Regions from separate parts of the Homo sapiens genome. Here all the other regions are linked to region 2. Evidence: promoter capture Hi-C in 16 types of primary human blood cells and fetal thymus (Javierre and others, 2016). All regions are on one chromosome and are shown on one strand. Each heading gives the region's core, a stretch centred on a gene start or on the middle of the fragment in contact. The rest is flanking DNA. Distances are from core to core; before and after follow the strand shown. Region 1 overlaps RSF1 (remodeling and spacing factor 1). Region 2 holds the start of THRSP (thyroid hormone responsive). Region 3 overlaps GAB2 (GRB2 associated binding protein 2). Region 4 overlaps RSF1 (remodeling and spacing factor 1).

Region 1 (3,910 bases), core at 443-2,942, 280 kb before region 2:
ATACTTATTTTACTGTCCTTGTCTGCTAGATCTAGTATCTCCATCATTTCTGAATCTGCTTCTTTGGGTTCATTTTTCTCCTGGTTAAGAGTTAGACCAGTTTCTCAGCACAGCTAGTAATTTGAGCCATATTGAGTAAATTAAGCTTGGATGTTGGAAAATATCAATGTTACCATGCTGCTAAGCGCTGCTAAGATGTGCTGTTAAGATTTTGCAATGTGCTGTAAAAATCAGTTGGGCTTTGTTTTGGCAGGTATTTATTTGCAGATTCATCTTATCTTTTTAAGGCCTTTTCTGTCAGGTTTACTACAATGAATCAATTGGGTTCTCCATTGAATGCCCTGAGTGCTACAAAGAATATTTCACTCTGGTCAGAGTTCAAACATCTCCAGTGTAAGTTCTAGGAAATGTTTGGCTAGTAATAACCTGGATGTTCAGTGCCTAGCGTTGTGGATTTTCACTGTTTGCATATACGACCTAGTCTTCAGCAAAGACTCAAGGTAGCCCATGTACAGATTTCTGAAATTCTGTCTTCTGCATAGCCCTCTTCTTTTCAGAACCTGGCCCTGCAACTTCTAGCTGCCTAAGCCTCTTGAAATCCAATCTTTGCCTCCTCAACTGAGTGAAGCTGCCAGACTCATTAGATTCTCTCTCTCTGTTTCTGCGGTCCTAAAGCTGCTTCCAGGCAGGAAACCCTGGTAGTGGTATAGGGCTCACTTCTTTTATTTCACCCATCACCCAGGGAAAACAATCCTGATTTGCCTTAGTACAATATCTAAAAAGAGATGGTTCATGTATCTTGATCCAGTTTACTAGCTGTTTATGACAAGTGGGTAAAAGCCCCTTATTACTCCATCATGTCCAGAGAGAATTCTCAATTTTTAAAGCAACATTGGCTGGGCACAGTGGCTCATGCCTGTAATCCCAACACTTTGGGAGGCTGAGGTGGGTGGATCACCTGAGATCAGGAGTTTGAGACCAGCCTCGCCAACATGGTGAAACTGTGTCTCTACTAAAAATACAAAAATTAGCCAGCCGTGGTGGCATACACCTGTAATCCCAGCTACTTAGGAGGCTGAGGCAGGAGAATTGCTTGAACCTGGGAGGCGGAGGTTGCAGTGAGCCGAGCTCATGCCATTGCACTCCAGCCCAGGCAACAAGAGCGAAACTCCATCTCAAAAAAAAAAGAAAAGCAACATTAAAGAATTAAAGATGTGTACTTGAGCAGATGATATGAATTTTTAAAAGAGCAAATTGGACAGGCACAGTGGCTTACGCCTGTAATCCCAGCACTCTGGGAGGCCGAGGCAGGTGGATCACGGTGAAACCCCGTCTCTACTGAAAAAAAAAAAATACAAAAAAATTAGCCTGGCATGGCGGCGGGCACCTGTAGTCCCAGCTACTCGGGAGGCTGAGGCAGGAGAATGGCGTGAACCTGGGAGGCAGAGCTTGCAGCGAGCCGAGATCGCGCCACTGCACTCCAACCTGGGCGACAGAGTGAGATTCTGTCTCAAAAAAAAAAAAAAAAAAAAAAAAAAAAAGAATTATACGTAGATCTATTTGTTAAACATGAACTATGAACTCTAAAAAGAAACATCTGCATATCATATCGTATAGTGGATTTTAACATTTCCATAAGGCAAAAGATCCTTAAAACTTTATAGGAGGATATTACTGTCTCCATTATGAAGAAACTCTGAAGTTAATAAATTGCCAGGTCACACAAATATCAAGTGGCAAGGCTAAGATTTCAACCCAGCTAATACTAAAAATCCTGACATTTACTACGTACCATCATGCTTCCCATTAATTTATCCCCACAAATACTATGTATATTAAGAGATTTAGTCTACCAAACTGAATTTATTAAAGTATCCTATGTTGTGCTTAGCAAGATTATTGTTAACTTATCATTCAGAATATCTGATCAGCACGCGAATAAAAAATTACCCAATTTTGGTAAATAAATGTATTATTTATTTAAATTTAAAATTGGCATTTAAAAATATTTAAAATGGCTGGAGCCTTGGACACCTTTTCACTCAAGCCAGGAGTACCCCAAGGAACACATATATTTCCTATTTCATATAGTTCAACATTATATTATGATCTGTTGTTGAGACCACTAGAATGTATGTTCCATTAAAGTTTTAGTCACAAGGTTTAGAGAAGGGGTTAGCATACAGTAGACACTCAATATACAGTGGGGAATAAAAGATCCCCATAATTTTAATTCTCCTAAAACTATAATGGTGGAGGCATATTACATCAAGATGGTGGGCTCACCCTCCTGCCCAAATCTCTTAAAATACAGTAAAAAAGAAAAAAAAGTACTGTTCTTGTGTTTCCAACAAATATGGAGTAATAAGGACAAAGTTTACCTGACTGAAACAACTAAACGACAACAAAAATATATGAAACTAGACACTCAAGACATTATACGAGTAACAAAAGACTATGAATAGTGATACATGAGAGATGCAAAACAGAGATAAACCCTATAACTACCCCAATTTACAAACTGGGTAAAGAGGCAAACAGGGAGGATCAATCAAAAACCTGGCAATCTCCCTTAGAGAGATGAGGTTAAGAGTCAAGAAGGCAAAGGTAGAATTAACAGAGAAAAGTGTCAGAGAAGAGAGCTGCAGAGAGTACTCTGGAAATTTGCAGAGTCCCTCTGAGTCTTTAGCAAAGGACTGAGCAGGGCATGTACCCGGGGAAATTACCCAAGGTCAGGGATAGAACTGCTCCAAAGAAATAAAGGGAATAGCACCCAACACCCACACAGGTCTATGAACAAGGCCTGCCCCCCAACAGCAAGAATGGAAAAGCTCATCTTTTGGCTAACACTGGTTAAAGCAACAGGGGGTCAGCAAATTATATCCTACAGATCAAATGTGGTTCAGCACCTATTTTTGTATAGCCCAAGAACTAAGAATGACTTTTACATTATTAAATGGCTGAAAAAGGTAAAAAAAAGAACATTTCATGACAATTTAAAACTACATAAAATTTAAATTATAGTATCTAAAAATAAAGTTCACAACCATGTTTATTCATTTAAATACCATTTATGGTTGCTTTTACACTACAGTAGAAGAGAGAGATAGCTGACACACAAACTGTAGAGCCCACAAAGCCTAAAATACGTACTATCTGGGTCTTTACAGAAAAATAGGTCTTGCCTTAATATGAAAAAAATAAAAACTAGACTAAACGCATATCCAGTCCCACTTAACAAAGCTTAAAAATCAAGATGCTAAATAATCAATCTCTTTCCAATCAACTTAATCATAATGCAGAACAAATATCAAGAATATCATAGGAATATAAAAATATCCAGCATCTAGCATAGTAAAATTCAGAGTTTAGTATCTACTAAAAACTTACCAGGCATTGCTAATGTACCTTCAGAACAGTAAAAAAAAAAAAAAGTTCGAGTGCTGTGACTCACACCTGTAATCCCAGCACTATGGGAGGCCTAGACAGGCAACTGCTTGAGTCCAGGAGTTTGAGACGAGTCTGGGCAACACAGTGAAACCCCGTCTCTACTAAAAATACAAAAAAATACAAAAAATATTTGTCAGGTATGGAGGTGTACGCCTGTAATAGTAACTACTCGGGAGGCTGAGGTAGGAGAATCACTTGAGTCAGGAAGGTCAAGGCTGCAGTGAGCCAAGATCACACCACTGTAGTCTAACCTGGGCAACCAGAGTGAGACACTATCTCAAAAAAAAAAAAAAAAAAAAAAAAAAAAAAAAAAATTAGGGGTAAAAAAAAAAAAGTAAAATATTACCGGGCATGCAAAGGAAGCAGAAAAATTCAACCCAAAGTGAGAAAAACAAAAACAACAAAAAAAATCAAACCTGACCCAGAAATTACTGGTAATAGAATCAGTAGAAAAAGACAT
Region 2 (3,987 bases), core at 673-3,172:
AGGCGGAATTTTGTTCAGTCTAAAGATAAGCTTTTTCATAGCTCTGGCTGTAGTGGGAGGGAGCAGAGGAGTGAATGATTGTCAGTTGGGAGGGTGCAGAGTGGGCTCCTGCCCTAGGGTGGAGGTGAGGGTGGCTTAGGTGAGACAACACAGAGGCCCTGTTCAGCCCCACGTCCCCTCCCTGTGCTCCCTCCTCCTCTCTCCTCTCCTGCAGGCGTGGGAGGTATCATCATTCAGCAGATTTCACCAGAGGCAGTGGAGGAGGCAGGTACCTGAGCCAGAATTCAGAATGTCTTATTCTCCACTTGACTCTGCCACTAACTTGTTGTGCAACTTTGGGCCTTTCCCCAGGCCTTCATTTTCTTTTCTTTTCTTTTTCTTTTTTTTTTTTTGAGGCGGAGTCTCGCTATGTTGCCCAGGCTGGAGTGCAGTGGTGCAGCATCATCTCGGCTCACTGCAAGCTCCACCTTCTGAGTTCACGCCATTCTACTGCCTCAGCCTCCCGAGTAGCCGGGACTGCAGGCGCCCACCACCACGCCCGGCTTATTTTTTGTATTTTTAGTAGAGACAGGGTTTCACCACGTTAGCCAAGATGGTCTCGATCTCCTGACCTCGTGATCCACCCGCCTGGGCTTCCCAAAGTGCTGGGATTACAGGCGTGAGCCACTGCGCCCGGCCATTTTCTTAAATATCTAATAAAAAATATATAGCAAATGCAGTTTGTAAACTATGACAATATGACCACGCAAAAGATTATTATCTTCCAAGACTGCTGGTCCAAGGAAAGGTCAGTAATAAAGTGGAAGCATTGTAGCTTATGGAATGACTGGTTAGATTTGGGAGAAGCCTTAGCAATAATCTAGAATCTGCATAGATAATACATCTGAGGATTGGGCTTTGTGGTTTACAAAGCATTTTTTTTCCTCTTTTGATCCCAGCCGCTTGTCTGGACTGATACAAAGCATTTTTATTAGTTTGTCTTATTCAATCCTCACACCACCTCAAATTTACAGAGGATATGGATCTGGTTAACTTGTATGACTATGTAACCTCATGTCAGTCCACAGCACTGCCTGGAGGTGGGTAGAGGTGGTCCTGGGCTGGAATCCCAGCCCCAGTGGGACCTTGAGCAAGTTACTTTAGCTGTCTGCACCTAAATTTCCTCACTGGCAAAACAGGAATACTGGTGGTTCACACCTGCAATTCCAGCACTTTGGGAGGCTGAGGTGGGAGGATTGCTTGAGTCCAGAAGTTCAAAACCAGACTGGGCAACATAGCAAGACCATCTCTACAAAAATTAAATAAATAAAACATTTACAAGGGTTGTGGTGAAGATTAAATGAGATCACTCACGAAAAAGCTCAGCAGACCCTGATGTGCAGTAGGTGCTCAATAAATGTTAGCCAGCAAAAAACAAACAAAAAAAAACTCAGCTAGGAAATTGCAGTACTGGGCTTCTGACTCCAACCTCAGTGTTCCTTGCCCCACATCAAGCTGTTTCACTTCAAATCCTCTCCATTTCACAATGGAGTCACCCCAGGTTGAAGGAGTGAACTGTGCTTTGGAGGGCTGCCCTAAGCAGGCAGCAAAGAGACAGCTTGGTCTCCAGTGACCTGAAAGAATTATTTATTGCCCTGAAGTCCAGTATACCAGTTGCCAAAGGGAAAAGCTTCCTTCCAACTGGCTCAGCAAGCTGACAGAGGAAGAGTCGGGTTCTTGCTGGGGCAGTCATGCAGAGCTGGGATGACAAGTAGAAGGCTGGCAGATCTGTCTCTGGGCAGATGGATCACCTGATACAGATGCTGGGGCCTGAGCCCTGGGATTGGCCCAAAACAGGGCTGTGTTGACCCAACAGCTGGGCATTGGCATCCTGTCAATCTGCCGAGAGCCTAGAAATAGTGCGGGGGCAGTCTGCTGGTCTCATTGTGTCAGAGGAAGCAACCATGCAGGTGCTAACCAAGCGTTACCCCAAGAACTGCCTGCTGACCGTCATGGACCGGTATGCAGCCGAGGTGCACAACATGGAGCAGGTGGTGATGATCCCCAGCCTTCTGCGGGACGTGCAGCTGAGTGGGCCTGGGGGCCAGGCCCAGGCTGAGGCCCCTGATCTCTACACCTACTTCACCATGCTCAAGGCCATCTGTGTGGATGTGGACCATGGGCTGCTGCCGCGGGAGGAGTGGCAGGCCAAGGTGGCAGGCAGCGAAGAGAATGGAACCGCAGAGACAGAGGAAGTCGAGGACGAGAGTGCCTCAGGAGAGCTGGACCTGGAAGCCCAGTTCCACCTGCACTTCTCCAGCCTCCATCACATCCTCATGCACCTCACCGAGAAAGCCCAGGAGGTGACAAGGAAATACCAGGAAATGACGGGACAAGTTTGGTAGACCTTGGACACTAGGGAAGGTAATGGTGGCCATGCTGGTGGGTGTGAGTCTACAAAGGGACATTCCAGGAGAGGAGAGGGGGCAGTGGTGCAACCCACTGGGAGAGGAACAGCCTGACTTTCAGACAGAGCCACTCTTGGGTCAGGGTATTGGGACCACAACCTAGGAGGGCCTAAGACTAGGCCTGTGTTACTATCCTTCTGACCTCAAATTGGCAATTGCAATGAAGTGATATGGAAACAGAGGGAAAAGTGGCCTGTGAGGGCATATCTCATATGCACATATATGTGTTTGTGCATGTGTGCATTTATTAGTATGTGAATGCTTGTAAATGTGTGAATTGAATGAGTGTGTTCTCATCAGTGACTTTGTTAAGAATTTAATTGAAGAGGGGCCAGGCGCGGTGGCTCACACCAAAGCACTTTGGGAGGCCGAGGCGGGCGGATCATGAGGCCAGGAGATTGAGACCATCCTGGCTAACATGGTGAAACCCAATCTCTACTAAAAATACAAAAAATTAGCTGGGCGTGGTGGTGGGTGCCTGTAGTCCCAGCTACTCGGGAGGCTGAGGCAGGAGAATGGCATGAACCTGGGAGGCAGAGGTTGCAGTGAGCTGAGATTGTGCCACTGCACTCCAGCCTAGGTGACAGAGGGAGACTCCATCTCAAAAAAAAAAAAAAAACTTACCTAAGGCATGCACATTGATTTAAGTGAACATTGTGAATTCCATTTGTGTGACAGTGTTTCCCAACATTTTTTCAAGTCACAGAACATGGAAAATTATTATATGGCACATGGGGATACATAGGTGAGGCTGCTTGCAGTACTGCTACAACAGGCTGGGGGTACTCTGACCATCCCAGGTTGGAACCCACCAAACGGGAAGCCGAGGGACCAGTCATGGCACTCTAATCCATTCCAGGCAAACTGGAGTATGCAGACATGCCTGTTGGGAAGCCCTGTTGTATGTACATATGAATATGTGTTCCAGTCTAAGCCTACATGTCTATGCACAGAGGGGCTGGGGTGGTGAGTGTGGATGAGCAGCAAGCTAGACAAGCAGGTGGTGGCAGAGGGTAGGAGGTGGGAAGGGGCCCTAGCATGGTCACCACTAGTTCACTCATGGATAAAGACTAGTATTAATAGAAATTGGACCACAGCACCTGCCAGTTTTGATTCTGTGCCACCTGCCAGCCCTGCTCCCACAAACTGGTCTCATTAGTTGTAAACAACATCCACGTCCATTGCAATCTCAAAACCACCTGATGCAGCTATGTAGGAAAAGATTCTCATCCCCAGTTTACTAGTATGGAAATTGAAGCCAGAGAGGTGAAGTGACTCACCCAAAGTCACACAGTAAGGAGACAAAAGTAAGACTGGCCTCAACTTTGAGCTGAGTGTTCTTTCCATCGTACCCACTGTCTGCCATTTTGTGTTATCTTCATAATCTGTGTGAAGGCTGCTCTGTAATTATGCGGAATAAACATGGGACCCCCAAACACAGAGCCTATGGAGAGCTCTGCTCCAGGCATTTTCTCAGCCATTTTTCCTTCTCCCGCTTCAAACCCAAACTGTCAACCTCAACCCTTCTTCCCTCTCCCGT
Region 3 (3,884 bases), core at 219-2,718, 300 kb after region 2:
ATGAACTTAAAAGTTTCAATAAATATCCTTAACTGGACACAATACATGCTACTTTTTGTATACTATTTTACTTTGAAAATACTGGTAGCAACTCATTACCATTGATTTCATCACCTACGAATAGAGCTCAATCCCCATTTTGTAAAATGCTTATTGCTTGCAGTGGTTATTCTACCTCTAGCTTCTCACTTAATAGCCATCCCCCCAAATTCCTCTCCAAACATATTACTAACAACTATGATAGCAAATGCTGTGATAGGCCTTGAGTTTGCTATATGTGTTTAAGTTCTTCAAAAAAGCATAAACCAGGGATTTTATCAAACTTTCCTGAGAAATTTTCCCCAAACTATACATATTTACTACATATCTACTGATATCAGAAGATTCAGTAGATACAGAGTGAGATTTGGACATATGTAATGTTGGGAAAAGCTTCCCAGGTAATAGCACCTTTTTAAAAATATATATATATACGTCTATATAGTATTTTGCAAGTAGGTGGCAATGCTATGCTTGAAATACAAGGGTGGGAATGGCTGCAGTCATTTTTTTTATTTCAACAGGGTTTTGGGGAACAGGTGTTATTTGGTTACATGAATAAGATCTTTAGTGGTGACTTCTGAGATTTTAGTGTACCTGTCACCCCAAGGTGATAGCAACTTAATGATCTGAGGTCCCTTCCACTGTTATGAAACAAATATTTGTGTAGGAAAAGGAGTCTGGTAACGGACTAGACACAGACAAGAAAATGAAATCTCAGATAAGCAGAGGGACTTAAGTGTGATTAAAAAGCCACCAGTAAGGCAGGCATTAGAATCCAGCTCACCTGATTGCCAGTCCATTTCAGAAAGTTCCCACTAGGAAAATGAAGTCTCCCTATCAGTGTCCCTTCTCCTTCTGCAGTGACCTTTTCTTTATCAGAAACTCCCCAGGGCACCTTGGCTTACTAAATGCTAATTAGATTTCCTCCACCTGCTCTGGGATTTAGAGGGCAGTGCTAATGCAGCGCCCTCCTCAACTAACAAAGCCACTGGCATTCCTGGTATGCAGGGGCTGGCCTCCAGTTTAGTCAACATCAATTAAAGGGCTCCTATCCAAAGCCCTAAGGAGGAAGACAGAAAAGGGAGGGGTATTCCTTGATCCAAAAAATGAAGTACAGTCACTGATTGGGATTGATTGTTACTGTGGAGCTGGGTGGGACCAGGGAAAATTCTGGGAGGTAGGAATGGAATCTGGGTGAGGCAAGCAAACTGATGACCATTCATCATCTTCTCACTCCCCCAAGGAATGCTATTGTTGAGCTTGAGGGGATGAAGCCTTGGATCGCAAAAAGCCTTCATCCAAAAATAACTTAAGAAACACTTCCCTTTCTCTTCTTGTTTCAATACACAGGTCCAAATTCCGCAGTCCAGAATGACAAGTCCTCCATAATTCTATCCCGCTCTATGGAGGCATCAGAATTTCGTGAATATTCAGCCACTAACTGGCAAAGTTCAGCCTGGATGTTCAGCCATTAACTGCTGTGTAATTATGGACCAGTTACAGTTTTCTCTGGGCTTTGATTTTTCTCATTTGCAGCACTCAGTTGATTTCAAAATTAAATAAGACAATGAATATACATATGTTTTATAAACTATAAGGTGGTGTAGAGTTCTAATACAACTCCTAACACAAACTCAATTCAATGCAAACATTTACTGAGTTCCTAGAATAGTGTTTATACAGAGTTGGCACACAAACATTATCAAGTATTAGCTGTTAGATGCACAAAAACCATACCGAGTTCTTAATGATAGGGAAATCACAGTCCAGTGTAGGAGACAAGCTCTTTAACATAATATGATGAGTACTAAAATAGGCTGGGCACAGTGGCTCACGCCTGTAATCCCAGCACTTTGGGAGGCCGAGGCAGGTGGATCACCTGAGGTCAGGAGTTCAAGGCCAGCCTGGCCAACATGGCGAAATTAGATTTCCGTCTCTACTAAAAATACAAAAATTAGCCAGGTACAGTGGTGCATGTCTGTAGTCCCAGCTACTTGGGAGGCTGAGGCAGGAGAATTGCTTGAACCCAGGAGGTGGAGGTTGCAGTAAACTGAGATCACACCACTGTATTCCAGGCTGGGCGACAGAGCAAGACTCCATCTCAAAAAAAAAAAAAAAAAAAAAAAAGATGAGTACTAAAATAGAATATGCACAAAGTGAGGATGGGGGGTTAATTTACCCTGCTACCAAAGAGCAGGGGTTAAGGATTATCAAAAACCTTCTATATTCACTATATTTTCTCCAAGCCCTATCCCCAATTACATTCTATTCCCCATCCAGACTATGATGGCGAATAGAATGTAATTGGGGATAGGGCTTGGAGAAAATATAGTGGAGAAGCAACTCAAATGGTTGCTTCTCAAATGATCCTCCAGAACAACATATTCATTAGAATCTCCCCATCTTTATTCACAAAGTTACATGAGAAATTTTAAAAACCCACTAACCATCCAAGGAGTATTTAAGCTTCCATTATGTGCAAGGTATTCTTAAGGATGCAAAAAAATACAAGACAGGTCCCTGAACCCAATGAATTTACCATCTAGCAAGGGAGATAAGTCATATACAAAATTATGATACTAAGGTATATTCCTGAGCCATACAGTATCTCAGGGGTAAAGGGGAACATAGCTCAAATATCTGGAGGAGCTCCAAATTGAAAACTTCTGTTTTCTTTTCCCCCATCAACTTGGACCAAGAGTCACAAATACATTCTTCCTCCATCTAGCAATATCCTTTAACCTACTTTGTGCCAGACAACATTCTGGTCATGAGAAAAAAGCAATGAACAAAACAGACAAAAATCCTGCCTTCGAAGGGCATATGGTCTGGAAGTGTAAAGGGTCAGGTAGGTACATATATGAGTGACTGGTGTGTGCATGTATGTGTGCGTGCGTGCATGTGATACAGCAGACTAGAAAGCATATGCTTTGGCTTAAATGGAAAGCTACCACCCAGTTCCAGCTAATTGCTGCTAGGCAGAAATTTGGGCCCAGTGTTCCCAGATCTGGAAGCTGGACATTTTACGGATTTTATGTAAGAGATCTCAGCTTTTAACAATCTACGACTAATTAAAAGTGTTTAAAACACTGCAGGCCAAGCAAAACACTTTATAGATGGAATTCAGGCTAAAGATACCAGTCTATAATCTGTCTTAGAACATGTATCATGATTTTTGGCTTAGAGATGCAGTCACTTCATATAGTGTTATAAACCAAGTGCTACTGGGCTGCAGGCAGAAGATCCAGCCTCTCAGCCAGTATTAAGGAGGTGAGAGCATTTAGCCTGAGCTCCTTCAGAAAACATCTCAGAATATGTCAGTGCTTAATTTTCTTTTTCTTTTTTTTTTTTTTTTTTTTTGAGACGGAGTCTTGCTCTTCCCCCCAGGCAGTGGCGCTATCTCTGCTCACTGCAAGCTCCGCCTCCCGGATTCACGCCATTCTCCTGCCTCAGCCTCCCGAGTAGCTGGGACTACCGGCACCCGCCACTGCGCCCGGCTAATTTTTTGTATTTTTAGTAGAGACGGGGTTTCACCGTGTTAGCCAAGATGGTCTCAATCTCCTGACCTCGTGATCCGCCCGCCTCGGCCTCCCAAAGTGCTGGGATTACAGGCGTGAGCCACTGCGCCCGGCTGTCAGTGCTTAATTTTCTATTCTTTGTTCACTTCTCACAGCACTTACTGGCCACATCCATGAGTTGCCACATGCTGAGGTATTTCTTTGCTAAGAATGGCAAGACCATTTTGTTCAACCAGGAAGTCCATGAACAGCAACTCAACCAATGCATCTGCCTTGATGGTTTGATTATTCAACAGATTAATACTGTTCATGAATATGATTAAT
Region 4 (3,893 bases), core at 5-2,504, 300 kb before region 2:
ACAGTGTATCCACTGTATTTTGCAAGCTGTCATAGTTCAACAAATAAGTATTTTATACTATAGGCAACAGTCAAAAGATATTTGTAAAATACCACAAACCAGGTGCAGTGGCTCACACCTGTAATCCCAACACTTTGGGAGGCCAAGGCAGGAGGATCACTTGAGCCCAGGAGTTTGAGATCGGCCTGGGCAATGTGGCGAGATGCCACCTCTACAAAAAATAAAAAATTTTAGCTTGGCATTGTAAAAGTTTTATGAAAATGCTAAGGCTGGGCGTAGCGGCTCACACCTGTAATCCCAGCATTTTGGGAGGCCAAGGCGGGCAGATCACGAGGTCAAGAGATCTCTCGAGACCATCCTGCCCAACATGGTGAAACCCCGTCTTTACTAAAAATACAAAAATTAGCCAGGCATGGTGGCGTGTGCCTGTAATCCCAACTACTCAGGAGGCTGAGGCAGGAGAATCGCTTAAATCCAGGAGGCGGAGGTTGCAGTGAGCCGAGATTGTGCCACTGCACTCACTCCAGCCTGGCGAAAAAGCAAGACTCCATCTCAAAAAGAAAAAGAAAATCCTTTGCAATATATAAAGCATTAAGCATTCATGCTCTATCAGACAAGCCTGTGTTCAATCCTTGCTTCACCATCTGGTGTCTATGTGACTTTGGGAGTAATTCACCATTCTATGATCCAGGTTGTGGTGAGAATTAAATGGTGATGCATGTTAAAAAAAAAAAAAAAAAAGCATAGCACTGAGTTTATAATAAGCTGTCAAATGTTATCTATTATCATTATTATTAAAAAGTTATAAAGAAACTGGAAACCTCATAAATTGCTATGAATACAACATAAATTGCTATGGTACAGCCGCTATGGAAAACAGTTTGGCAGGTCCTTAAAAAGTTAAACACAGAATTACCATATGACCTAACAATTCTACTCCTAGTTATATACAGGAGAGAAGTGAAAATACGTGTTCACAGAAAAACTTGTACACAAATGTCCATAGCAGCATTATTCCTAATAGACAACAAAGTGGGAAACAAGCAAATGTCCATCAACTGATGATGGATACATAAAAGATGCTATTATCCATATAATGGATGAGTATTTGGCAATAAAAAGGAATGAGATGATACATGATACAATGTACATAAACCTGGAAATCATTATACTAATACTAAGTGAAAGAAAATACAAAAGACCACATATTTTATGATTCCATTTATAAGAAATGTCCAGAGTAGGCAAATCCATACAGATGGATACAGGGGAAAAGGTGGGTGTGATTGATACTGATTGATAACAGATACAAGGCTTCTTACTGAGATGTTAGAAAAGTTCTGGAATTAGTGGTTATGTTTGCACAACATAGTGAATACACTAAAAACCAATGAACTGTACACTTCAAAATGGTGAATTTTATCTTATGTGAATTATATCTCAATAAAAAACACAAAATACTAACAATGCATATAAAAATTAAGAGTGTTAATCTTAATTTACTTTTGAGAAATACAACAGTAAAGGAACATCTAGTTCTTGTCAAAATACAACCTAATTATCAAATGACAAAAGGTGACCTTTATGATTTGTTAACAGATGACAATGGGCCTTTCTGAAATTGCTGTTTAGATCAAGGCCATCTATTGCCAAATTTATTCATTTTCAAGGGATTTCTAAACCTAATACTAGGTACTTTACTTTCAGGGTACATATGAATACGATCATCTCCTGTTGAGGGGTAGAAAAACACCCCAGAAAAGACACACTAGGTTATTTTCTTTCTTTTTTTTTTTCTGAAACGGAGTCTCGCTCTGTCACCAGGGTGGAGTGCAGTGGTGCAATCTCGGCTCACCGCGATCTCGGCTCACTGCAACCTCCGCCTCCCTGCAACTTCCGCCTCCCAGATTCAAGCGGTTCTCCTGCCTCAGCCTCCGGAGTAGCTGGGCGCTTGCCACCACGCCCAGCTAATTTTTTTTTGTATTTTCAGTAGGGACGGGGTTTCACCATGTTGGTCAGGATGGTCTCAATCTCCTGACCTTGTGATCCGCCAGCCCTGGCCTCCCAAAGTGCTGGGATTACAGGCGTGAGCCACCGCACCTGGCCACATTAGGTTATTTTCTACTTAATGACATCATCTTTCAAGTACTGAGCCCCCCAAAATACTTTCTGCTTATTCTAAGATTCGTATTTGCTTTCATTTTTTAACATTTCTTTGAAACACTTACTACATTCAATGTTACAGTATTTCTTTTTTTTTTTAAACTCCTATTTACTTAGAAATTATTCTGAGGCTAAAAGAAATCAAGTGCGATTTCTTTTAAGGGATAATTTATTAATAATTGGTTATCCCACTAGTTTTAAAGGTCTTCACATGGCTGTCTTCAGGAAAGAGGCAGGGCAGTAGAAGTAGAGGTGCAGGTACTAAATTTGTGAAGGCATGTGAAGGCAAATTGTTATTTAGCATAGTGGTATTCATTATCCATGGTCAAGGTGTCTGAAATTGCTCATTAATCAATCATTAACAACCACAGAAAATAGGGGAATTTCATGGAAGCGTAAAGGTTCACTGGCAGAGAAATTTCTTTATGACTTGCCAAGTAAAAGGAATGTGAAGAATAAGGCCAAGGCCCATCCAACAAAGCAAGAGTTAACAGGTCCTAGCAGAACTGCTAGTTTAAATTTCCATTCGGTGATTTTTTTTTTTTTTTTTTTTGAGACAGGGTCTCACTCTGTCGCCCAGGCTGGAGTGCAGTGGCACGATCTTGGCTCACTGCAGCCTCAACCTCCTCAGCTAGCTGAAGCAATACTTTCACCTCAGCCTCTTGCATAGCTGGTACTACAGGCATGCACCACCACACCCAGCTATTTTTTGTATTATTTTCTTTTCTTTTCTTTTTTTTTTTTTTTTTTTTTTGTAGAGATGGGATTTTGCCATGTTGCCCAGGCTGGTCTCGAACTCCTGAGCTCAAGCAATCTACCTGCCTCAGCCTCCCAAAGTGCTAGGATTACACATGTGAGCCACTGTGCCTAGCTGGGTTTCCTTATTTTTAGAAGGGTAATTCCGCTGTCAAAGTAAAAAGTCATCCGCCTAGATTTTTGAGGTCCTGTCTACTACGGATGAATGTACGTTAGCAAATGCAAGATACAGCACAATAACAAATGAATGCCCTTGGTTAAGCTCAGTTCCTAGACACCTCTCTCTCTTTCTCTCTCACTATCAATTATCAATAGTTGTTGATTTTACCTTCCAAATAGCTCTTACATCCACCCCCTCCTTTCCATCCCTAGTGCCAAAACCTTAATTCAGGTCTCCTTATTGCTCAGTTGGATTATCACAGTAACCTCCTGAACACATGACTGTTAGGCCTCCACTCACTGTCATTTTCTCAAGGTACTTTCTATTACAGTAGGGCTAAGCTACTGGTTATTTCCTAACAAAATTTCTGCTCATTCTATAGGTCTTAGTTCAGCTGTCTTAGGGAATTACTAACAATAGATGACAAATAGATGCCAATGCTGACTGATTTGTGTAATAATGTAGTCTGCTAAGTCTAGGCTTAGCAGGAAGGCTTAGGTTGGTAATGTCTGCTATGAGCAAAGCAACAAGGCCTAGCAGATGCCAGATACTTGCTCTGGATTTAAACAGAATTTTATATTAATTATATTCCATTTACTTCAAAAGGAAAAGAAACAGCTTTCAGTAATACATATGTACAATGATGCCACAAGGAGAAAGACGAGAGCACTGTAAGAGCCATGTAACAGGGAAGGTAAAAATTCCATCAGAAAACTAGCTAATGATTATAACTAATAAATAAATATAACAAAGTTAAGCTTACTGGCAGTCAAGGGAAAGAAAACTAAAATTGTCTCAGTGATTAATTGATCCA

Evidence for each region. The method cuts DNA at HindIII sites, captures the fragments that hold promoters and counts their contacts. A CHiCAGO score of 5 or more calls a contact.
Region 1: a contact is called between a fragment that was not itself captured here and the fragment with the promoter of THRSP in region 2, in 5 of 17 cell types (erythroblasts, endothelial precursors, naive CD4 T cells and 2 more). The highest score is 8.1, in erythroblasts.
Region 3: a fragment that was not itself captured here is called in contact with the fragment with the promoter of THRSP in region 2 in 2 of 17 cell types (activated CD4 T cells and non-activated CD4 T cells); the score reaches 6.6 in activated CD4 T cells.
Region 4: a fragment that was not itself captured here is called in contact with the fragment with the promoter of THRSP in region 2 in 3 of 17 cell types (erythroblasts, megakaryocytes and total CD4 T cells); the score reaches 7.2 in erythroblasts.

What each region holds. Positions count from the first base shown.
Region 1 is chr11:77,784,414-77,788,323 of GRCh38, forward strand. All of the region lies in intron 1 of RSF1 (remodeling and spacing factor 1), which reads right to left. It also overlaps the pseudogene LOC124902804. Among named protein-coding and RNA genes, the nearest start is that of RSF1, 34 kb to the right of the region's middle. The HindIII fragment of the contact is 3,098 bases long and covers 144-3,241 here.
Region 2 is chr11:78,061,939-78,065,925 of GRCh38, forward strand. It overlaps THRSP (thyroid hormone responsive), which reads left to right and starts at 1,923. Exons shown (of 2, transcript NM_003251.4): 1 at 1,923-2,403. The coding sequence starts at 1,944. The coding sequence ends at 2,384. The region is part of intron 1 of NDUFC2-KCTD14 (NDUFC2-KCTD14 readthrough); the gene reads right to left. The HindIII fragment of the contact is 4,485 bases long and covers 1,668-3,987 here.
Region 3 is chr11:78,364,441-78,368,324 of GRCh38, forward strand. The region is part of intron 1 of GAB2 (GRB2 associated binding protein 2); the gene reads right to left. Among named protein-coding and RNA genes, the nearest start is that of GAB2, 51 kb to the right of the region's middle. RefSeq lists an enhancer at 676-1,588. The HindIII fragment of the contact is 2,076 bases long and covers 431-2,506 here.
Region 4 is chr11:77,759,133-77,763,025 of GRCh38, forward strand. All of the region lies in intron 2 of RSF1 (remodeling and spacing factor 1), which reads right to left. Among named protein-coding and RNA genes, the nearest start is that of RSF1-IT1, 21 kb to the left of the region's middle. The HindIII fragment of the contact is 5,162 bases long and covers 1-3,835 here.